2 separate regions of the Homo sapiens genome follow, and region 2 is linked to region 1. The links are contacts of gene promoters, found by promoter capture Hi-C in blood cells and fetal thymus (Javierre and others, 2016). All regions are on one chromosome and are shown on one strand. The core of a region is centred on a gene start or on the middle of the fragment in contact, and the rest is flanking DNA. Distances in the headings are between cores, read along the strand shown.

Region 1 (4,542 bases), core at 1,039-3,538:
AATCTCTTGACCTAGTGATCTGCCCTCCTCAGCCTCCCAAAGTGCTGGGATTACAGGAGTAAGCCATCGCACCTGGCCTAGAGTAGACATTTCTCTAAAGAAGATATACAAATGGCCAACAAGCACATGAAAAGATGCTCAACATCACTAATCGTTAGAGAAATGCATATCAAAACCACAACACCTCACCTCATACCCGTTAGGATGGTTACTATCAAAAACAATCAAAAAACAAACAAACAAAAAAACAGAACACAACAAATATTGGTGAGGAGACGGTGAAATTGGAACCTTCATTCACTGTTGGTTGGAATGTAAAATAGTGCAGTTGCTGTGGAAAATGGTATGGCCATTCCTCAACACAGAATTATCACATTATCCAACAATTTCTCTTCTGGGTATATATCCAAAAGTGAAAGCACAGACCTGAACAGATATTTCTACACCCATGTTCATAGCTGCATTATTAATAATAGCCAAAAGGTGGATGCAACCTAAGTGTCCATTGTCAGATGAATGGATAAACAAAATGTGCTAGGTATATCCATACAATGGAATATATTCAGTCTAAAGAGGGAAAGAAATTCTGCCACATGCTACAACATGAATGAACCTTTAAGACATATGCTAGGTGGAGTAAGCCAGTCACAAAAGGACAAATATTGTATGATTCCACATATACAAGATACCCAGAATAGGCAAATTCATAGAAACTAGAATGAGAATGGGTGGAGACTGATTATTATTCTCAGACCCCTCCCACCCCCACCCATTCCCATTAGAGGCCCCTCACACCAACCTAAATCTTTACTGGGTAGAGTTCCAGTTCAGGATGATAAAAAAAAAAAGTTGTAGAGATTGATGGTGGACAAGGTGGTTCATGCCTGTAATCCCAGCACTTTGGGAGACCAAGGCAGGTGGATCACTTTAGGTCAGAAGTTCGAGACCAGCTTGACCAACATGGTGAAACCCCATCTCTACTAAAAAATACAAAATTAGCCGGGCACAGTGGTGCACGCCTGTGGTCCCAGCTACTTGGGAGACTGATGCAGGAGAATCGCTTGAACCCGGGAGGTGGAGGTTGCAGTGAGCTGAGATTGAGTGACAACTGCACGATAATGCATTTCATACCACTGAAAAGTACACCTAAAAATGGTGAAAATGGTAAATTTTGTATTGTGTATATTTTGCCACAATTAAAACACACAGGCCAGGTGTGGTGGCTCATGCCTGTAATGTTAGCAGTTTGGGAGGCTGAGGCAAAAGGATTGCTTGAGCTCAGGAGATAGAGGCCAGCCTAGGCAACATAGCGAGACCCCATCTGTATTTTTTTAATGTAAAAAATAAAATAACACACACACAGACAAACAAACAGAATCTGTATGAGTCACACGTTTAGGTAGCTGAATATCCTCTCTGCCCCCAATTCCCCCAAGTCAAAGGCAGAAGGGATTTGTTCCACCAAAGAGTTTACACCAGCCACAGCTGCCCACTGCAGTATCCTCCCAGGAAAAGCCCTTTTGTGCGTGGAGGAGGCAGATGGCGAGGAGGCAGATGTGCACTTTTTTTTTTTTTTTTTTTTTTTTTAGAGACAGGGTCTGGCTGTGTCTCCCAGGCTGGAGTGCAGTGGCGAGATCAAGGCTCACTGCAGCCTCGAACTTCCGGGCTCCAGCGATCCTCCTGACACAGCCTCCTGAGTAGCTGGGACTACAGGTGCACATCACCGCGCCCAACTAGTTTTTTAAAATTTTAGTAGAGATAGGCTCTTGCCATATTGCCCAGGCTGGTCTCTAACTCCTGACCTCAAATGACCCTACCGCCTCCCGAAGCGTCGGGACCACAGGCGGCGAGCCACCGGCCGGCCTCTGTGTGCACCGAGGAGCCGGGCAGCCACCGCCACGATCCAGCTTTAGGACATTTCCATCACCCCACTCAGCCTTCCTGCGCCCCTGGTTCCTCATCTATAAATAGAGATAATATACGCCTAACCCTCTAGGTCACCAGCACATTGCACCCATAATTATTATACTTGTTGATGCCACACTTTCAGGTTTTAACCTTTCCAAAGCGCAGCCCCGCCCCAGCGCAGCCCAAGTCCCTGCACGCAGAGGCGCCGATCACGGGTGGGAGGTGGATCCCGGAGGCCCCGCCCCAGGCCCCGCCCCTCCGTGCGCCCAAGCTCGACCGCCTGAAATCGGGGAATCGGGCCTCTGCCGGCGCCCTGGCAGCGGCGCGGGGCGTGGCTCCGGGCTGGATTGGTGGCGCCTGGGCCCCGCGAGCGCCTGCGCAGTGGTCAAGGCCGCGCTCGCGCCGAGGGGCTGCGAGAGTGACCGCGGCTGCTCCAGCGCTGACGCCGAGCCATGGCGGACGAGGAGCTTGAGGCGCTGAGGAGACAGAGGCTGGCCGAGCTGCAGGCCAAACACGGGGTGAGCGCATCAGCCCCCGCCAGGCTTGGCCCTCGCGGGGCGCCGCCCTCGCCCGGAGTGTAGGGCGCGCCTCCGGGGCGGAGGCTCTGGGCGCCTCCCCGGGGCCCCGGTCCCCTGCGCTGCCCTGGCGGCCTCGTGGCCGGCTCAGAGGTGGCCTCGTCGCTTTCCTCGTCGCGAGGGGCCCAGGAGGCTGGCGGCGGGGGCCGCCACGTGCGGGACCTGCCCTGGCGTTGGGGTGTGGGGTCCCCTAGCCTGGAGCGGGCTCGTCCTGGCGGGCCTGGATCCAAGCACAATCTCAGCTTTTGGAGCCAGCAGCCGGACCGAATTCAGTTTTTCCGGAGTTCAGTTGTTATGACCCAAGTTTAGCCGACAGGTATTGAGGGTCCGCTGTGTTCCCGGTGCTGAGAGCGCGGCAGGGTCGGAGGAACGCTTGCCCCGCCGGGATGACAGGGAGGGGCCGCCTGGGAAGCTTGGATGGATCACACGCCCGGAGAGGCGTTTCTGATAAGGGACCGGGACCTTAGGGACGGAGGGCGCAGTCTTTGAGTTATCGTTGTCCCTAATACCGAGGCCCGTTTTATTTTCCAGAAATTATTCCTACATGTGAAACACGGTTTCGTAATACAGGGATTCCCCTCCCCAGGGTGCTCTGTATTCCAAAGCCTTCTGAGGTTGTGGTTTTAGACGTTCATCAAAACGTTGTAAGTGGGAACTAGTTCATTGATTTCTGTGAGGCCCAGTTTCTTATTTGGGGAGTTGTTTCTACCACCGCAAGAGACTGTTATGTATAGGAAACAACAGAACCGTTCCTTTTTCCCGCCGCCTCCCGTGAAATTTCTCTATTAAATTTAAGTTTTTTTTTTCCAGGATCCTGGTGATGCGGCCCAACAGGAAGCAAAGCACAGGTATGGGCTGGAAACGTGAACTTTTTGAAGGGTGGTTTCACCAAATGGATTTCTTTTGCTGTAGTTATTTTAAGCAGGTGTGTGACTCAGATTTTTTTGTTTTGCTGGAATGGTGATTTGGCCAAAATCATCCGCAGGGTATCTTCATTATTGTTAAATAAACACGTGTGCAGCTCCACATCAGACCTTGTATTGCAATTACTGGTTGATGTTTCTCTGCTACAATGTGAGTACCTTAAAAATGAGCCTGATAATAGGCAGCTGTGGCAGTTTCCTCGGCTGTGGGGGTGACGTGAGTCCGGTGCCTCACTTAGTAAGTGCTCAATAAGTGTTAACTGGTAAGCTATTCTGATTGTTTTATCCCAACACAGCGCACAGCACCTGAGACAGATGCAGGTAATTGATTCGGTGGCAGGTTTATTGAATGAGTATGTGATTACCCTATCATGCTATCATTTTTTAAAAATTGTGGTTAAATAAAATTTCACCATCACAACCATTTTTAAGTGTGCTCTTCAGTAGTGTTCACACTCTAGAATGTTTTCATCTTGCAAGACTGAAACCTTTAGCTACTGGACAATTCTCTATTTCCCCTTCCTCACCTTCTTACTCCTCCTCTCCAGCAAATATTTATAGAGCACCTGCTCTGGGTCAGGCACTGTGCTGGGTCTACAGAAATAGGAAGGGAGGGTTCGGGAGAAGACAGACGGTGAGAAGTATCTGGAGTAGTGATAGGAAGTAAAACGACGCAAATTTCATTGATTTCTGCCGTGTACATCTTTTCATTGTCACATATCTGAAATCAGGATGCCTTTTAAAACAGATTGCTCTTGCCCCAGATTCTTCCAGAGGGGATTTACTTTTGACTCTGCTATCACTTGAGTACATTTCTGAGACCATTGAAAGTTAAATTCTCTGCTTGAGGTTTTCCCCTGCCTCCTGCCTAGTAGTGTGAATTCAGACAGCAACCCTGTAAGACTGAACTTTTTTCTTCTTTACGTCAGGGCCAGGTGCATGCAAGCTTTTGTACTGCCCCTTACTGCATGGCATATTTATTTATTCTTTACTTTGTACTGAGAATGTTGCTCTTTGATACCCCAGTGGTGGGATCAGAACTCACTGCAGCCTCAAACTCCTGCTGGGCTCAAGTGATCCTCCCACCTCAGCCTCCTGAGGAGCTGAGATGACAGGCGTGCACCACCATGCCTGGC
Region 2 (4,473 bases), core at 1,899-4,398, 2.6 Mb before region 1:
TGTTTTTCTAAAAATTTGTACATTTCATCTAAGGTTTTCTGATTTTTTGGAGTACAATTGTTTATAGTATTATCCAATTTATTTCTGCAAAACAGTACTGTCTCACTTTCATTTCTGATTTTAGTAATTTGACTCTTTTCTCTTTTTTTCTTAGTCAATTTTGTTGATCTTTAAAAACATCAACTTTTCACTGGGTGTGGTGGCTCACTCCTGTAATCCTAGCACTTTTGGAGGCTGAGGTGGGTGGATTGCCTGAGCCCAGGAGTTCAAGATCAGCTTGGGCAACACGGTGAAACCCTATCTCTACTAAAATACAAAAAAATTAGCCAGGCATGATGGCGTGTACCTGTAATCCCAGCTACTCAGGAGGCCGAGGCAGGAGCATTGCTAGAACCCGGGAGGCGGAGGTTGCAGTGAGCCGAGACTGTGCTACTGCACTCCAGCCTGGGCAACAGAGTGAGACTCGATCTCTTTAAAAAAAAAAAATCAACTTTTATTTTCATTGATTTCCTCTATCATTTTTCTGTTTTCTGTTTTGTTTTTCTCCACTCTAATCTTTGTTATTCCTTCTTTCTTTTTCTTTTCTTCCCTTTTTTTTTTTTTGAGATGAAGTCTTGCTCTGTCACCCAGGCTGGAGTGCAGTGGTGCCATCTCGGCTCAGTGCAACCTCTGCCTCCCAGGTTCCAGTGATTCTCCTGCCTCAGCCTCCCAAGTAGCTGGGATTACAGGTGCCTGCCACCACGCCCGGCTAATTTTTGTATTATTAGAAGAGACGGGGTTTCACCATGTTGGCCAGGCTGGTCTTGAACTTCTGACCTTAGGTGATCCACCTGCCTTGGCCTCACAAATTGCTAGGATTACAGGCATCAGCCACCATGCCTGGCCTTATTCCATCTTTCTGCTAGCTTTGGTTTTAGTTTACTCTTCTTTTTCTAGTTACCTAAGCCACATAGTTAGGTTATTGATATGTTAGTTTGCTAGGGCCATGATAACACTTTATCACGAAGTGAGTAGCTTAAACAATAGAAATTTATTTTCTCACAATTCTGGAGGCTGGAAGTCCAAGATCAAGGTGTCAGCAGGGTTGATATTTTCTCAGGCCTCACCCCTTGGCTTGCAGATGCTGCCTTCTCACTACAATCCCACGTGGTTTTTCTTATGTGTACACACATGCTACTGTTCAGATCTCTTCTTCTCTGTTATGACATGAGGTCTTGCTCTGTAGCCCAGGCTGTAGTGCAGTGGTGAGCTCATAGCTCACTGCAGCTTCGACCTCTTGGGCTCAAGCAATCCTCCTGCCTTAGCCTCCCAAGTCGCTGTGACTACAGGCATGTGCCACCAAACCTGGCTTATTTTTTTTTAATTTTATTTATTTATTTATTTATTTTTAGAGACCAGGTCTCACTATGTTGCTCAGGATAGTCTTGAATCCTGGGCTCAAGTGATCCACCTGCTTTGGCTTCCCAGGGATTGGTAGCATAAGTGCTGGGATTACAGGCATAAGCCAACATGCCCATATTATTTTCTTACTTTCCATCCTTTCGAATCTTTTGATCCAAAGTAAGTCTCTTGCAGACAGCATATAAATTAATAATTTTTAGAAATCCATTCTATCAATCTCTGCCCTTTAATTAGACAGTTTAGTCCATTTACATTTAAAGTAATTACCAATAAAGGATTTAATTCTGCCATTTATTTAATAGCTATTTGCTTTTCTGTACATTTTTTAAATTTTGTTCCTCAATTCCTCCACTACTACATTTTTTTGGTATTTAATAGATTTTAGTGTATCATTTTGATTCCTTTTTTCTTTCCCTGTCTGTATATTTTTTAGTTATTTTCTTAGCGGTTGCCTTGGGGATCACAATTAGCATCTTAAATTTATAACACCCTAATTTGAATAATACTAACTTAGTTTTAAGAGTATACAAATACTTTGCTCCTATACATCTCTTTCCCTCCCTCTTTATATTATTATTGTCCCAGATCATATCTTTATACATTCTGTGCCCATTAACATAGATTTATAATTATTGTTTCATGCATTTGCCCTTTAAATGATAGGTGAAAAACAAAGTATTATGAACAAAACCTACAATAATACTGGCTTTTATATTTACTGATGTATGTAGTTACTATTTTTATCAGTGTTCTTTTTTTTTCTCATCATGGCTTTGAATTACTATCAAGTTTCCTTTCATTTCAGCCTGATGGATTCATTTTAGCAGCTCTTGTAGAGCAGGGCTACTAGCAATGAGCTTTCTCTGCGTTTATTTATCTGAAAATGTCTTAATTTCTCCTTTATTCCTGAAGGATAGTTTGTCTGGTAGGAAATTCTTGGTTGACAGTCTTTTTTTTTTTTTTCCCCAGGACTTTAACTGTGTTATTCCACTGCCTCTGGGCCTCTGGTTCCTTTTCTTTTCTTTTCTTTTCTTTTCTCTTTTCTTTTTTTTTGAGATGGAGTCTCACACTGTCATCCAGGCTGGAGTGAAATGGTGCCGTCTTGGCTCACTGCAACCTCTGCCTTCCAGGTTCAAGCAATTCTCCTGCCTCAGTCTCCCAAGTAGCTGGGACTACAGGCACCCGCCACCACGCCTGGCTAGTTTTTTGTATTTTTAGTAGAGACAGGGTTTCACTATGTTGACCAGGCTGGTCTAGAATGCCTGACCTCATGATCCACCTGCCTTGGCCTCCCAAAGTGCTGGGATTATAGGCGTGAGCCACTGTGCCCGGCACTTAAAAAAAATTTTTTTTTGAGATGGAGTTTTGCTTTTTTAGAGTTTTGCTCTTGTGCCCAGGCTGGAGTGCAGTGGTGCAATCTTGGCTCACTGAAACCTCCACTTCCCAGGTTCAAGCAATTCTCCAGCCTCAGCCTCCCAAGTAGATAGGATTACAGGTGCCCACCACCGCATCTGGCTAATTTTTGTATTTTTAGTAGAATGGGGTTTCGCCATATTGGTCAGGCTGGTCTCGAACTCCTGACCTCAGGCGATCTGCCCACCTCGGCCTCCCAAAGTGCTGGAATTACAGGCCTGAGCCACTGCACCCAGCCCCTCTATGGTTTCTGATGAAAGCTTAGCTATTAATGTTACTGAGGACTCCTTGTACCTTACAAGTTGTTCCTCTCTTGCTGCTTTCAAGATTCTCTTTTTGTTTCTGATTTTTGACAATCTGGCTGTGAGTTTCAGTATGAATCTCTGAGTTTCTCGCGCTTGTAATTTGTTAAGCTTCTTGGACGTGTATGTTCATATCCTTCATCAAATTTGGGAAGTTTTCAGCCATTATTTCTTCAAATTTCTTTTTCTGTCCCTTCCTGTTCCTCTTCTCCTTCAGGAACTTCTACTATGCATATGTTGATATATGCTTGATGGCATCACATGGATCTATCAGGCTCTGTTCATTTTTCCTTTTCTTTTTTTTGAGATAGAGTCTCACTCTATTGCCCAGGCTGGAGTGCAGTGGCATGATCTTGGCTCACTGCAACCTCCTCCTTCTTGATTCAAGTGATTCTCTGGCCTCAGCCTCCCCAGCAGCTAGGGTTACAGGTGCGCGTCACAATGCCTGGCTAATTTTTGTATTTTAGTAGAGATGGGGTTTCACCATGTTGGCCAGGCTGATCTCAAACTCCTGAATTCAAGTGATCCACCCTCCTCGGCCTCCCAAAGTGCTGGGATTACAGGCATGAGCCACCATGGCCAGCCTATTTTTCGTTATTTATTTTTCTCTCTTTACAACTGGACAATTTCAATTGCCTTATCTTCAAGTTCACTGGTTCTTTCTTCTTCCTGATTCTTCAGATCAGCTTTTTGATCTCTCTAGTGAATTTCTAAGTTCAAGCTATTGTACTTTTCGGCTCCAGGATTTCTATTTTGTTCCTTTTTATAAGATTAAACTATCTCTTCATTGGCCTTCCCTATTTGTTCATATATTATTTTGGTTTCCTTTAGCTCATTGGGTGTAAGACAGTTGATTTAATGTCTTTGACTAATGTTTCCAATGTAAAGGCTTCCTTGGGGATGGCTTCTATTGAATTCTTTTTTTCCCCCTGTGAATAGGCTATACTTTCCTTTTTCTTTGTATGCTTTGTAATATTTTGTTGAGCACTTGGCATTTTGGGTATTATTGTAGTAACTCTGAAAATCAGATTCTCCTCCTCTTCAGGGATTGCTGATTTTTGCTTGTTGAGGGTTGCAGCCATCTGTTTGTTTAGAGACTTTTCCAAACTATGTTTGCAAAGTGTGTAGTCCTTATTGCATGTGGTTACTGATGTTTTTGTTTCATAATCTTTACAGGCAACCAGTGACCTGGAAATGATATCTGTAAATTTCTGGCTACAAAAAGGTGTTCTTTACTTTCAAATCTCCTGATGGATGCTGCCATAGGAAGCACAAGAGGGCTGAAACCAATACAGGAGTCTGTGCTAATCCCTCAGGACTCAAAAATGCCCCAATTTTTGGAGGACAAGGGTCATCT

The links. Contacts are between HindIII fragments. The CHiCAGO score rates a contact against its expected background, and 5 or more counts as called.
Region 2: a contact is called between a fragment that was not itself captured here and the fragment with the promoter of PDCD5 in region 1, in 1 of 17 cell types (total B cells). The highest score is 6.7, in total B cells.

Annotation. Positions count from the first base shown.
Region 1 is chr19:32,578,902-32,583,443 of GRCh38, forward strand. It overlaps PDCD5 (programmed cell death 5), which reads left to right and starts at 2,289. Exons shown (of 6, transcript NM_004708.4): 1 at 2,289-2,426; 2 at 3,294-3,331. The coding sequence starts at 2,361. RefSeq lists an enhancer at 1,739-1,828 and silencers at 2,039-2,768, 2,114-2,290. The HindIII fragment of the contact is 4,450 bases long and covers 1-2,893 here.
Region 2 is chr19:29,933,351-29,937,823 of GRCh38, forward strand. It overlaps a transcript of URI1 not described here. Among named protein-coding and RNA genes, the nearest start is that of URI1, 6.7 kb to the right of the region's middle. The HindIII fragment of the contact is 153 bases long and covers 3,073-3,225 here.